Linked DNA regions of Homo sapiens: regions 2 and 3 are each linked to region 1. The links are contacts of gene promoters, found by promoter capture Hi-C in blood cells and fetal thymus (Javierre and others, 2016). All regions are on one chromosome and are shown on one strand. The core of a region is centred on a gene start or on the middle of the fragment in contact, and the rest is flanking DNA. Distances in the headings are between cores, read along the strand shown.

Region 1 (4,128 bases), core at 446-2,945:
CTATAATGCTGTCATTATAGTTTCTACTTTCTAGAGTTTTATATAAATGGAATCATACAGTATGATGATTAACTGAACAAAATTATTTTGAATTATTTTGGGATTGTCAACTAAAGAAAAAAAATCAAGCTTTTATTTTAAGAGATGGAGTCTCACTCACTTTGTCACCCAGGCTGAAGAGACTGAAAAAAAAAAAAGATTCATCTGTGTTTTTGCATGTATCAATAATTCATCCTTTTTTGTTGCACAGCAGTATTCCATTAAGCAGATGTATAACAATTTTTTGATCCACTTCATTCATCTATTGATGAACATTTGGGTTGTTTCCTTTTTTTTGGCTATTGAAAATAAAGTGTTAACTTTTTGGAAACTGTCTCCTGAAAAAGCTAAACATAAATTTACTAAATAAGCCACTGATTCCTCTCATAGGTACATACCTAAGAGAAATATACGTACACACAAAATCTTGTGCACTAACGTTCATGGAAACATTATTCATAATAGCCAAAAAATGGAGACAACCCAAGTGTCCACCAACTGATGAACAAATCAACACAATGTGGTATATCCATAACAATGCAATATTATAAGCAATAAATAGGAATATAGGAGGGATACATGGACGAACCTTGAAAACATTATGCTAAATGAAGTAAGTCTGACTTAGGCCACCGTGTATTTTGTGATTCCACTTACATGAAATGTCCAGAAAAGGCAAATTCATAGAGACAAAATGTAGTGTTTGCCAGGGGCTGGAGAGAGGTGGGGCCGGGGGTCTGGGGAGTGATTGCTGATGGGTAGTTTCTTTTGTAGGTGATGAAAATGTTCTAAAATTAAATAGTAGTGATGGTTGTGCAACTCTGAAAATACTAAAAACTACTGAATTGTGTATTTATTTTATGAGACGGAGTCTCGCTCTGTCGCCCAGGCTGGAATGCAGTGGCATGATCTGGGCTTACTGCAACCTCCTTCTCCCAGGTTGAAGTGATTCTCCTGCCTCAGCCTCCCGAGTAGCTGGGATTACAGGCGCGCACCACTATGCCCCGGTAATTTTTGTATTTTTAGTAGAGACGGGGTTTTGCCATGTTGCCCAGGCTGGTCTCCAGTTCCTGACCCCAAGTGATCCGCCCACCTCGGCCTCCCACAGTGCTGGGATTACAGGCGTGAGATCCACTGCGCCCAGCCAAAGCTGCTATTTTTTAAAAGCGGCAATGAACATTCTTGTACAAGTCTTTGTACGGACATACAGTTTGGGTAGAAGAATAGCTGGGTCATATGCTGGGTGGATACTGAACTTTTTCAGAAACTGCCGCTCCTCTGCAAAGTGACTGCACCATTTTATGTTCCCAACAGCAGTACAGGAGAGTTTCAGGTCTACACAAACCCATCCATACTTGGTAAGACCCAACAAGCTTAACATTTCAAGGGAAGGTGGACTTAGGGAGGCGCCAGCGGGAGGCAACATCAATGCAGTTAGCTACACGGGCCTGAAAACTGGAGGCCGCGACAAGCGTCGCTGAGTGGAGGCCCAGTAAGTCCCACCCACTAGGCCAGCCCGAGCGCGTCTGCCACGCCCTGCTGCATTCCGCGGCGAGAGCGCGCGATAGGATTGGCTCTCAAGGCCCCGCCCCAACAGGTCGCCGCTCAGGGTGACCCGGAAGCAGTTGCGCCAGCAGCGTCGCGCGGCCCAGTTCCCTTTTCCGGTCGGCGTGGTCTTGCGAGTGGAGTGTCCGCTGTGCCCGGGCCTGCACCATGAGCGTCCCGGCCTTCATCGACATCAGTGAAGAAGATCAGGTGTGCTTCGGTCTACGGGTGCCGCCACGGTGGGGTGGGGGATGTCCTAGTAGCGCAAGGGACCGCTGCCGAGCCTGGGCCGGGCGGCCGGGGCTGACACCCGCAGCTGTTCTACACGCGAGAATGGGGAGGCCGGTGGCTGGGGCGCGCGTTCCTGGCCTCGATTCGCACCAGCTCGCCGGCCGGCGGTCCCAGCGCGGGGCCCGACGCTTCACCGCCAGCTCCCTGGTCGGCGTCGGGACTCATTTCTGACGACATAGTACTTTTAGACTGATGAGGAATGATGTCTGCTTCCGTCCGTCAAATGCAGCCACATTCGGAGTGGGAGGTGGTGAATCTGTAGTTAGCATAAGCAGGGTAGGGAAAAGTAATTTTGTGCTAAAGATCAAAATGCCGGGCCGGGCGCGGTGGCTCACGCCTTTAATCCCAGCACTTTGGGACGCCGAGGCGGGCAGATCACGAGGTCAGGAGATCGAGACCATCCTGGCTAACACGGTGAAACCCTGTCTCTATTAAAAATACAAAAAAATTACCCGGGCGCGGTGGCACGCGCCTGTAGTCCCAGCTACTGCCGAGGCTGAGGCAAGAGAATCGCTTGAACCCGCGAGGCGGAGTTTGCAGTGAGCCAAGATCGCGCCACTGCACTCCAGCCTGGGCGACAGAGCGAGAGTCCCTCTCAAAAAAAAAAAAAAAAAAAAAGATCAAAACGCCCGTATTACTGTGCGATCACAGGCGAAGACGACCCGTATTTTACACTTGCTTTCTATTCCTACTTGTATGAGGGTGAGAGTTGTTCTGTACCCCGGAAGTATGGTATCAGTTCAGCTCTTAAATTCTGTGAGGCATACACCTGATGGACCATCCTGATATTTTTAAATTTCCCGTTTGGCGTTTGCTCTTTGGTATACAGGGCTGATGGTTCTCATTTTCCCCATAACAAAAGTTTAACCTTATTTGGTAGGAGTTGAACACGACATCGTATTCTTTAAGTTAATTTTGTATTGCTGAAAATTCTTCTGTGAAGTCCTAACTTTGTCGTTTTATTTCTGTTACTCCACTAACACGGAAGTAACTTCCAAATGATTGGATATCATAAACTTCGCATGGAAGTTTACTTGTCTAAGACAACTTACAGAATTGCGGGAGTGAGTTCCCCCTCTCTCCTCCCCCCGCCCCATGGTAGGAATGCAGTTCCGATGCTCTGAAGAGCAAAGTAAGAAGGGAAAATGCAAAAGGCGGAGAAAAGGTCAAGGATGGGGAGGTTAAGCACAGATAGGAAGATATGAAAGACAAAAAGATACCTGATTAGAAATGGAAGCATGTTACCAACAGTTGGCTGTTAGGTTAACTGAGAAAGTGTTTGGAATTTTTTTTTTTTTAACATACAAAGTGAATGGAGGAAGTTCTTGTCATTGATCGTATCTTAAAGTGTCTTTTCTCAGGCTCTGCTTCTGTTCTTGTAACATCAGTATCGCTGTAGACAGTCCTTTCAGGGAAATATGAAATTGCTCAGGATTAGTTTAACTTTGGTGAAATTCTCAGCTTGATTAGAGTTAAATGGAATTCTTTATCTTTTTTTGTTTTCCTTTGCTTATGCTGCTTCCACAACCACTTGTGGCAGTGAGGATGACAGAAAAACAGCAAACGTGGTTCAATAGTTCTTAGAAAAAGTTTGCTGTGTATCTGTTTCCTCCATAGAGAAGCATGAAGCATGATTTCTGGAGGTATTTTTGTTTTCTCTGACATGGTGACAGTTTGTTTTCTTTTTTTAATTTTGCTTATAATACCAACTCTTCTATGAAGTTACTGTGTTCTTGTTACCTGAAAGGATAGTACCGTCAGATCTGCAGGTTTAATACTTTCCTGAGGCAACTAAATATACTTGGGGGTTTAAAAATCTTGATGGCTTTGAATTTTTTTTTTTTGGCTTGGTCTAGAAAATGTAATGCCTGTGCATTTACTAATGGTATCCTTTCATATTCCTGTTGCACATCCTCATTTTATTATCTTTAAAACCAGGCTGAGCACGGTGGCTCACGCCTATAATCTTAGCACTTTGGGAGGCCGAGGCCCGTGGATCACCGGAGGTCAGGTGTTTGAGACCAGCCTGACGAACATGATGAAACCCTGCCTCTACTAAAAATACAAAATTAGCTGGGCATGGTGGCGCATGCCTGTAATCCCTGCTACTTGGGAGGCTGAGGCTGGAGAATCATTTGAACCCCGGAGGCAGAGGTTGCAGTGAGCCGGGATCGCTCCATTGCACTCATGCTATTGCACTCCAGCCTGGGCAATAAGAGTGAAACTCCATCTCAAAACAAAACAAAAAAAAAC
Region 2 (4,128 bases), core at 461-2,960, 1.2 Mb after region 1:
AAAAAAAAATCTTTGAATAGGAAGATAAGCAAGGCAGCCCTTACAATCAAGAAGCACGCCATCTACCTGACATGGCAAATCAATTCTGCAGGAAGAAGGTAGAGAGGGCATCTTCTCCACCTTGCCAAGTTGAGAAGAGGTAGGCAAGGCATTCCAGGCAAGGTCGAGAGCTTGAGCCACAGGAAAAAAAAAAAAAAAGAAAGTGCAAGTGTGTTGTATGCTGGCAGAGGTCTGATTTGGTTAGAATGGATGGTGCAAATGTGATAGTGGTGGAGAAATAAGTCCTGGAGGACCTTAGATATACAAGCCAGATGATAAGAGCTTTCAATGCCCCAGAAGTTTAGGTTATAGTCTATAAACATAGGGGTGTCACAGGTTTTAAGGAGAATGACAACCAGATGTGTCTTGGAAAGATTACTCTGGCAGCAATCAAAAGTTGGAGACTGTTAGTTAAATTGTAAGTATTTTCTAGAAAAATAAAATTGCTAGCAGGTACAGGTAGCGACCAGTACAGGTAGTGACCAAAAACTTGAGGTATCTCTCTATCACCACTTAGCTAGGCCAACAACTATCTGTAGCTCCAAGAAATCTGTATTTATAAAAAGACCTCTAATAACACAGGGCACAATCATCAAATGGCTAGAATCTAATGGTTAATCCAAACACAAAACAAATCTCGCCCACCTATCCTAAGAGGGCGACTTTGCATCCTCTGCAAATATATACGGTAGCACAGGAAACTCACAGCCATGCCACCCCCTGTCAAGGGTGTAAACAATCCTGACAGCTGGGGGGCGGGCTGGCAGCGCCATTTCTTCCACCACCCCAGACAGTCCCAAGTTCTGAAGAAACTGGGCATTGAACCACCCTTATCAGCAACCGGTGTTTATTTCTGGAACAGATGCTAGTAATGTGGGAAACCCAAGGTGTCCAGGAGAAAAGATAGTCACCGGTATGGCATCACCGGAAGTCAGTACCAAAACATAAAATCCAACATCGAACCGTAAGGAGCAATGCTGACAGCAAAACAATTCTCACGCACTGAAGTCCGAAAGTGAGCCCGGACAGCGATTCTGGCGCTGGGGAAGTCGCGCCAGGGGAGTAAGGGGTTGCCTATCTTCTCCTCTCGCTCACCCACCTGCCCACCCCGGCGCCAGACTCCGCAGGCCCCGGACCCAGCAGAGAAGAGCGCCTGGCCGGGACAGGGGCTTTTACACAGCAGCAGGGACTGACCCCAACCGGGCGGGCACCTGCGGGGCCAGCGGGGGTCCGCGGAGCGCGGCGGTGCGGCACGAGGGCCACTACCTCCTTCTCTTGCAAGTGGGCCTCACCGAGGCCTGGGAGAGAGATATCTCGTCGCTTCTCATACCTGGGCCCAGGACAGGAGGAAGACTCAGGGCGAGGCCCTTTCCGCCCCCGTCTCGCCCCGGTCCCCGGTGGCTCCGCAGGATGAGGGCGGCCCTGGCGTCACCTTCTGGTGTCGCGGAAGCTCGGGTCCTGTCAGCGGCCCCGACCCCCTTTCCCCCTGCCTCACCGCCTCCTCTCCCCATGCCCCCACCCCTGCCATGCGTGTCGTCCCATTACTTGATTAGATCCCGATAGTCCAAAAAGGATAAGATGAGGAGCAGGGGATCGGTGGGCAGCGACTCTAGGGTCAGCGGCGCCGTCTCGGTCTCCATGGCCGCCATCTTGCCTGGCCCGGTGCAGGTCTGGCCCCGCCCTGGCCCCGCCCCTGCCCCGCCCCCACCAGCGCCCGAACCGCCCCCAGCCGCTCTCACAGGTTTGTTATGTAACCGCCGGGCCAGCCCCGCCCTCAGGGTGGGCTGAGGTGCGGCTCCCTGGAGACCCCGCCCGCTAGCCGGGAGCCAGCGGCGCAGTGCGAGTTCAGCCCGCTTTCTTCGCGCTCCGCGTCAAATCTCTCCAGCTCTGTTCTCGCATCCCGGTTCGTAAACTTGCCCAGCCCGGGACCCTTTTGTTGCCAAATCTGCCTCGGTCTGCCCAACTCCTCCTGCGAAATTTTACACTCAGTATGCAGGAAGCCTCGCTCAAAATCTGACACTCCTCCACGCCCTTGGTCCCCAAATCCATTCCTTCTCTTTGTTTTCCAACCCGAGAACCCCTCGTTTTCCCCGCTCAGCCTTCCCCACCCCGCTTGTCCCCCGCACACAGCAGGGCCGCTCCGAGACTTGTCCACTCAGCAAGAGCAGAGCTGAGAATCAGCCAGGGACGCCAGCTGAAGGCCCTTCTCCCAAATTAAGGAAATAATTGTTGAGGGCTTAACTTCACGCCCCTCCCCGCCTTCCTAAGTAAAATGTGTACAAGGAGTGAGTCTGAGTCTCAGCCGCTGTCCCTTAATTTGGTTATCATGGCTATTTTCAGCCTATTAGGGCAATGCAAAGGGTACAGTGTGGATTTTTTCCAGCTTTAAAATTTATTTTGGCCAGGGTTTAGATCCCGCAGAGTTAAGTATCCCGCGTGTGAAGGGATGAACTGAGACTCCCAGAGGGCATAACTGATGGAGGCACGAAGATGTCTGCTCTTCAGCTTTGCCAAGGTGATATTAAAATGAGAGTGGGGGAAGTATAATGGGTCCATACATCACTTGCCTGATTTCTTCTTTTCCATTGCTTTTCCAAAGGTAGTATGGTGTAAGGGGCTTTGGGGAATCCAGACAGACCTGGACTTCACACGCCCGTCATTTATTTCACTACTAGTGAAATGCTGGCGTAGTTACGCCTAAGTTCTCTGAGACTGTCCCTCATCTCTAAAACCACCCCTCCTCTGGTGAACTAAGGATGGCGATAACGCTTTATGTAAAGTGCCTGGCCAGATACTCAATAAATGTTAATTTTCCAAGCTTATACATGCATCAGTCACTAAGTTCTCCAAACATTTCCATATCCTGGAGAAAGTTTCTCTCAATTATTTGGAAGAGTGGAAGTGATATGCCCCGCCCCAAAAAAATCCATTTCCTCCATTCTTCATACCATTAATGCCTTCTATTTATGGTTTTGCTTAATAGTTATAACCCCTGCCACCCAGCCAACAAAACAGAACAACAGCAACAAAAAACTCTGCCTACATCTCTGTGCTTCCAAATTGTTTATGCATATGCTTAGAAGAACATTTATTGAATTGGATTTCAAGTACTTGTTCTGTGTCTCTCTCGTCAAACTGTAAACTCTCAGTCTGACTCATCTTTCTAATTTCAGGGCTTAGCAAGTTATTCAACAACTAGAAAGTTTAAATTCAGGTTGAATGGATGAATGAAGACAGAATAATCATTTCTGTTTACAAGGGAACCATACCTTTTTACATAGACAAATGCTTGTAAAGGTATTTGATCCTGATTTATGTTTGTCTCCATTTTCTACTTCAGATGGGCCACCTGTTTTAAATCCAAAAGCTGGTAGGAGTTTCAGGTACACTGCATTTGCTTCTGCTGTCCTATTGCACTTGGACTTGGTGCAGCTATGACCTAATGCAGAAGACAAAGTATGAAGCTACCAAACTGTCAGGGCCAGAACTAAGGTGAGGCAAGAAAGCTACTTGCTTGGGGCACAAATTTAAGAAGAGGTGCCAAAAAACTGAATAATCAAATAAATAACATTTTAATGCAATATTTTTAAAAATAAAAATTAATGCAAAAAAAATTCACAGTGAACAAAATACCAAACTCTTAAACAAAAACAGGATCCCACAGTGCCATGTAAGCCATATTAGAGCCTGATGCAAAAAGAAAAAACAATGCGCAGCACTAAATACATGCTTTTTATGGTTTTGTTAGTTTGTTTTTTGAAACGGGGTTTCTCTGCTGTTGCCCAGGCTGGAGTGCAGTGACATGCTTTCGGCTCACTACAACTTCTGCCTCCTGGGCTCAAGCCAATTTCCTACCTCAGCCTCCTGAGTAGCTGAGACTATAGCTACACCACAACACCCAGCTAATTTTTGTATTTTTAGTAGAGACAGGGTTTCACCATGTTGGTCAGGCTGGTCTTGAACTCCTGACCTCAAGTGACCCACCTGCCTCAGCCTCCCAAAGTGCTGGGATTATAGGCATGAGCCACCGCGTCTGGCCAGGTGGAAGACTTGCTTCTCCCATGTGGCTGGGCTTACAGCTTCTGCCAT
Region 3 (4,128 bases), core at 1,115-3,614, 1.1 Mb after region 1:
AAGCCCAGTTTTTCTAGGGACTGTCTTCCTTCCATGGCTATGAGAAAGGGTGCATTACAGTGTGTCTGATGAACTGAAGACCATTTCCATGGCCACACGGACCTAAGCATTTAGGTTATTTCATACTTCCCTTCTCTGTGTGGCAGGGGAAGCCAACTTAAGCCGTTATATACGATAGTTGGAATGATCTTTTTAGAACTATCTGCCCTTCTCCAGTGGTCAAGGACAAGCCTTAGCCAAAACAAGTGATGGGAAAGACAAAGTCTGCAGGACAACCTACCGCTACTGAAAGTTCTACTTTGCAATAGGTCCTTCTTGGAGTACAAGGCATTTAACAACTTTACCCTCCAACAGGGAGGAGTCATTCAGCTCGTAGGCTGAGGGATCCTGCCCGCATCAGCACACGTGGTCCAGAGCCCTAAGACTTCAGACGTAAGACCAGATATCAGCCCAGGATCCTGGTGAGAGAACTACCGGCGCCAAGGCCACAGAGTCCCAGGGGGGCTGCCCCCCAGCATTGAGAAGTGGAGTGTCCCAAAGCTGCCCTGGAAACGGCCTTGGGCCTTGTGGTTCTTGCACAACTCCCACCTCCCCCTACAGACAACTGACAGTCACCTTACTTCACCTTCCCCCCATGGAGAGCCCCGGTTTAGGACCGAACATTAAAGCTTAGGGACTGTCTGTGGTGGGTGGAGCTCCAGAGTACAGGGTAGGAGGATGACTGTGCAGGAGGATTAAAGTTCAGGACGGGGTGGTGGCGGATGGAGTTCCAGGTGTGGAGGCTCAGAGTCCAGATGACCCAAAGGGTTTAGGACGGAGGGAGGATGGAGTTTGGGACTAAGAGGCTCATGAAGTTCAGATCTGTGGTGGGGGGAGGAGTCGGTTAAGTCCAGGATAAGGGAGTCTGGGTGCTAGGGGATAGATTTTGGATCTGGGACTACTGGGGGCTGGAGTCAAACCAGGCTACATTTCGGGTCGGGGCACGGAGCCAAGGAGGGAGCTAGGGCAGGCTAAGGCTGGGCTCGGTGGCCCTGGCGAGGTCACGCACAGCTCTGGGAGTCGAAGCCGTCCCCAGTGATGGTGAGCAACTCCAGCTCCTTAATCCGGATCTCCAGCTCGCAGAGCTCCTCCGGGTGGGAGGCAGAGGCGAGCCTGGGGGTCGAGGGGCAGGGGACCAGGGGCGAGGCAACCACCTCAGGCCCCGGCGGCGGTGAGTAGAAGAAGCGCAGAGGCTCGTAGGGGATGGAGGCCAGGCCGGAGGGCCAGGGCGAGGGCCAGGGGCGCTCGCTGGAGGGACCCAGGCCGGGTGGTGGCGGGGGCGGGGGCGCCGGGGCGGGGAGCGCCTGGGACAGGGACCGGGCCCCCGCCGCCCCGCCCACTGGCGCCCCGCCCGCCTTCAGCGGCACGAAGAGCTTCTTCCAGATGTTGAAGTCGCTGAGCGGGGACGAGGAGATGCCGCGGTCGTACAGGGACGGGAAATAGAGGGGCGGAGCCGACCGCTGGCTCATGGTGGGGCTGTGGCTGCCGCGCCGCCCCTTTGGCATCGTTTGAATGAGGGTCTGCGTGGGAGGAACCCCGCGCCGGGAGACGCGCGCTCAGGCCCCGAGTCGCCGGGGTTTCGAGGTTCCACAAGCCCCGCCCCGATGGAGCGCGGCCCCACCCTTTCGCCTCAGCCCGGCCCCTAACAGGCGGGGTTCCAAAGCCCGGACGACCACGTCCCGGAACGCGGCCCCGCCCACCTCGGCTGGCCGCACCCCGCAGTTAGAAAGCCACGCCCCCTGGCTCGCCTCGCCTCGCCTCCCGTCCCTCGACTCCGCCCACCGCCTCGCTCTTGCTCTGCGACCCCGCTGGCTTCCGTTGTCATATCCCAGCATACCCTCATCCAGAACAGGCAGCGGGCCAGGGCTGCAGAAGAAAGCTTACTTCAGGCTTCCTCTCTTTCTCCCATGAGGGAGAAAAGTATTTCCTAGAAACCTGGCCCCTGCACCAGCAGACTTACCTCATTGCCTCACTGGCCGCGCCCACAGCAAAGAAGTCTGAGAAAATCAGTGTCTGATTTTTCATCCACTACTGTGGGAGGCAGACAAAGGAGAAGAGGATTGATTGGGAATGGCTGTTAGAGCCAACCTATGTATCTGCCAAACGTTAGCAGTGTTGAGGAAGATTCTAGAAAAGGGGATCCTCATCTGGTTTGTAATAGACCTGAAGGAGTGTTTTCAGTGAAATGCAGTTTAGTTCTCTTCCAAACACAGATATCACCAGGAGCTAACAGGCAACGAGCTAACCACCAAAAGGAAATCCTGTCCGCCCTACCTCAAATACTTCACCCATTGCTTATGAGCGATTTGGACATTTTGTCCAAAGGACATGACAGCTCATTTATGTGAGTAACCTGTATTAGCCATAGACTGAGGGGAAATAACTAATACATTTTCTTGAGAGCCTCTGCCTAATGATCACTGGTATGACTAGTGATGGGTGGAGGGCAGTTAAAGAGTCAGTATCAGCTTCACAAGTTAAATATATATATGCATATGTATCTGCACACACAGTGCAAAGTGTGTGTGTGTGTGTGTGTGTGTGTGTAGCAGCAAAGTGGAGAGAGTCAGATATTCAAGCTGGGTAGCCTTGGACAAGTTGCTTGACTTTTAAGTAGGTTTTCCATAAAATAGAAATAAGAAAACCAGGCTGCCTCATAGGGTTGTGATCAAACAGAAGACGGAACAGTGTGTGTGTGAAACACTTGAACTTGGACACTTTGTCCAAACACAAGAGGCAGCTGTCCCTACTAAGGGGCATGTCTGAAACTGGGAAGCTTTTTCTTCCCACACTGAGCTTCCCACACTTAGTTGTCACACGCAGTATTTGCTCTCTGACTTTGGCAGCCACCCATCATTGTTTATTCATACAAGTGATCACTAGGCTGAGGCTCTCAAGAAAATGTATTTCCCCTCAGTCTATGGCTAATACAGGCCATGTGCGATAGCTCAGCACCCAGCCTGTAATCCCAGCACTCTGGGAGTCTGAGGTGGGATCTCTTGAGGCCAAGAGTTTGAGAACAGCCAGGGGCAACATAGCGAGATTCTGTCTCTATAAAATAATTTAAAAAATTAACCAGGTGTGGTGGCATTTGCCTGGAGCCACTCAGGAGCTGAAGTGGGAGGATTTCTTGAACCAAGGAGGCTGAGGTTGAGGCTGCAGTGAGCCACAATCATAGCACTGCACTCCAGCCTGGGTGACAAGGCAGGACCCTGTCTCAAAATAAATAAAATAAAATAAAATAAAAAATACCCTTATCTTCCATTAGTTTCCCCCACATATTTAACTTCCCATAATTTACTGCCCAAGAAGCTCAAACCTCTTTTCCTTTGTCTTATCACTTTTCTACAATCGCCCATTGTTAAAATTGTATATAAGCTCTCAAGCCACTTCTTTGGGTTTTCACTTTGTTTCTGTAAGAACCCCATGTACCTGCGTAATAAACTTTGTCTTCTGTTAATCTGTCTTTGTCAGTTTAATTCTCAGGCCCCAGGCTCTGAACCTAAGAGATTAGAAGAAAAATTTTTTCACCCCTACAGAACCACAGTAATGGTAAGAACCAGGGTTTTGGACTCAAGACTTGGGACCAAACCCTGGATCCACTATGTATTTGGCTGTGCGGCTGAACCTTTCTCAACCTCATTTTTTCATCAATATAATGGGAATAGTAATGGCATCTACTTGCTTAGGTTGGCAAGACTAAGTGAGACAGTTTAAGTACCTGGCAATGGCTTGTGTTCAACATTAGCTCTTGTTATTACATATTAAAGGCCCTTAGAAGGAAAAGAGATTTTGCGTTATATTTTTTAAATGAAGCAATACAATCATTTTTTATGTATATATCTAGTTGAGGAGAAAAAATTACAGATTTTTTCCCCCTTACTCCAAGATAATCTAAACAGATTTTACTCTGGATGGCTTAATTATAACATAATCCATGAAGTTATAGCCAGGGGGTTAAATAAGAAGTTGATGACAAACTTGGTTTCTCTAACAAGTATGCAAGAAAACTCAAGTGCCACAATGAACACCCATAAACTGCTGTCAGGAGGCAAAGTCCCTATGAGGTAATAATAAACCCACGAGGTT

Evidence for each region. Contacts are between HindIII fragments. The CHiCAGO score rates a contact against its expected background, and 5 or more counts as called.
Region 2: the fragment with the promoter of FBXO3 here is called in contact with the fragment with the promoter of EIF3M in region 1 in 1 of 17 cell types (total CD8 T cells); the score reaches 5.7 in total CD8 T cells.
Region 3: a fragment that was not itself captured here is called in contact with the fragment with the promoter of EIF3M in region 1 in 5 of 17 cell types (non-activated CD4 T cells, naive CD4 T cells, total CD8 T cells and 2 more); the score reaches 11.9 in non-activated CD4 T cells.

The regions. Positions count from the first base shown.
Region 1 is chr11:32,582,136-32,586,263 of GRCh38, forward strand. It overlaps EIF3M (eukaryotic translation initiation factor 3 subunit M), which reads left to right and starts at 1,696. Exons shown (of 11, transcript NM_006360.6): 1 at 1,696-1,794. The coding sequence starts at 1,753. RefSeq lists enhancers at 1,407-2,059, 1,702-1,851 and a silencer at 1,482-1,541. The HindIII fragment of the contact is 5,112 bases long and covers 1,411-4,128 here.
Region 2 is chr11:33,772,810-33,776,937 of GRCh38, forward strand. FBXO3 (F-box protein 3) reads right to left here and starts at 1,711. Exons shown (of 11, transcript NM_012175.4): 1 at 1,585-1,711. The coding sequence starts at 1,688. FBXO3-DT (FBXO3 divergent transcript) reads left to right here and starts at 1,890. Exons shown (of 3, transcript NR_120550.1): 1 at 1,890-1,942; 2 at 2,445-2,554; 3 at 2,639-2,861. RefSeq lists an enhancer at 725-1,225 and silencers at 1,174-1,243, 1,704-1,803. The HindIII fragment of the contact is 5,455 bases long and covers 1-2,855 here.
Region 3 is chr11:33,699,197-33,703,324 of GRCh38, forward strand. C11orf91 (chromosome 11 open reading frame 91) reads right to left here and starts at 1,630. Exons shown (of 2, transcript NM_001166692.2): 1 at 1,049-1,630. The coding sequence starts at 1,544. CD59 (CD59 molecule (CD59 blood group)) reads right to left here. Exons shown (of 4, transcript NM_000611.6): 4 at 3,814-4,128. RefSeq lists silencers at 1,296-1,385, 1,566-1,805. The HindIII fragment of the contact is 897 bases long and covers 1,917-2,813 here.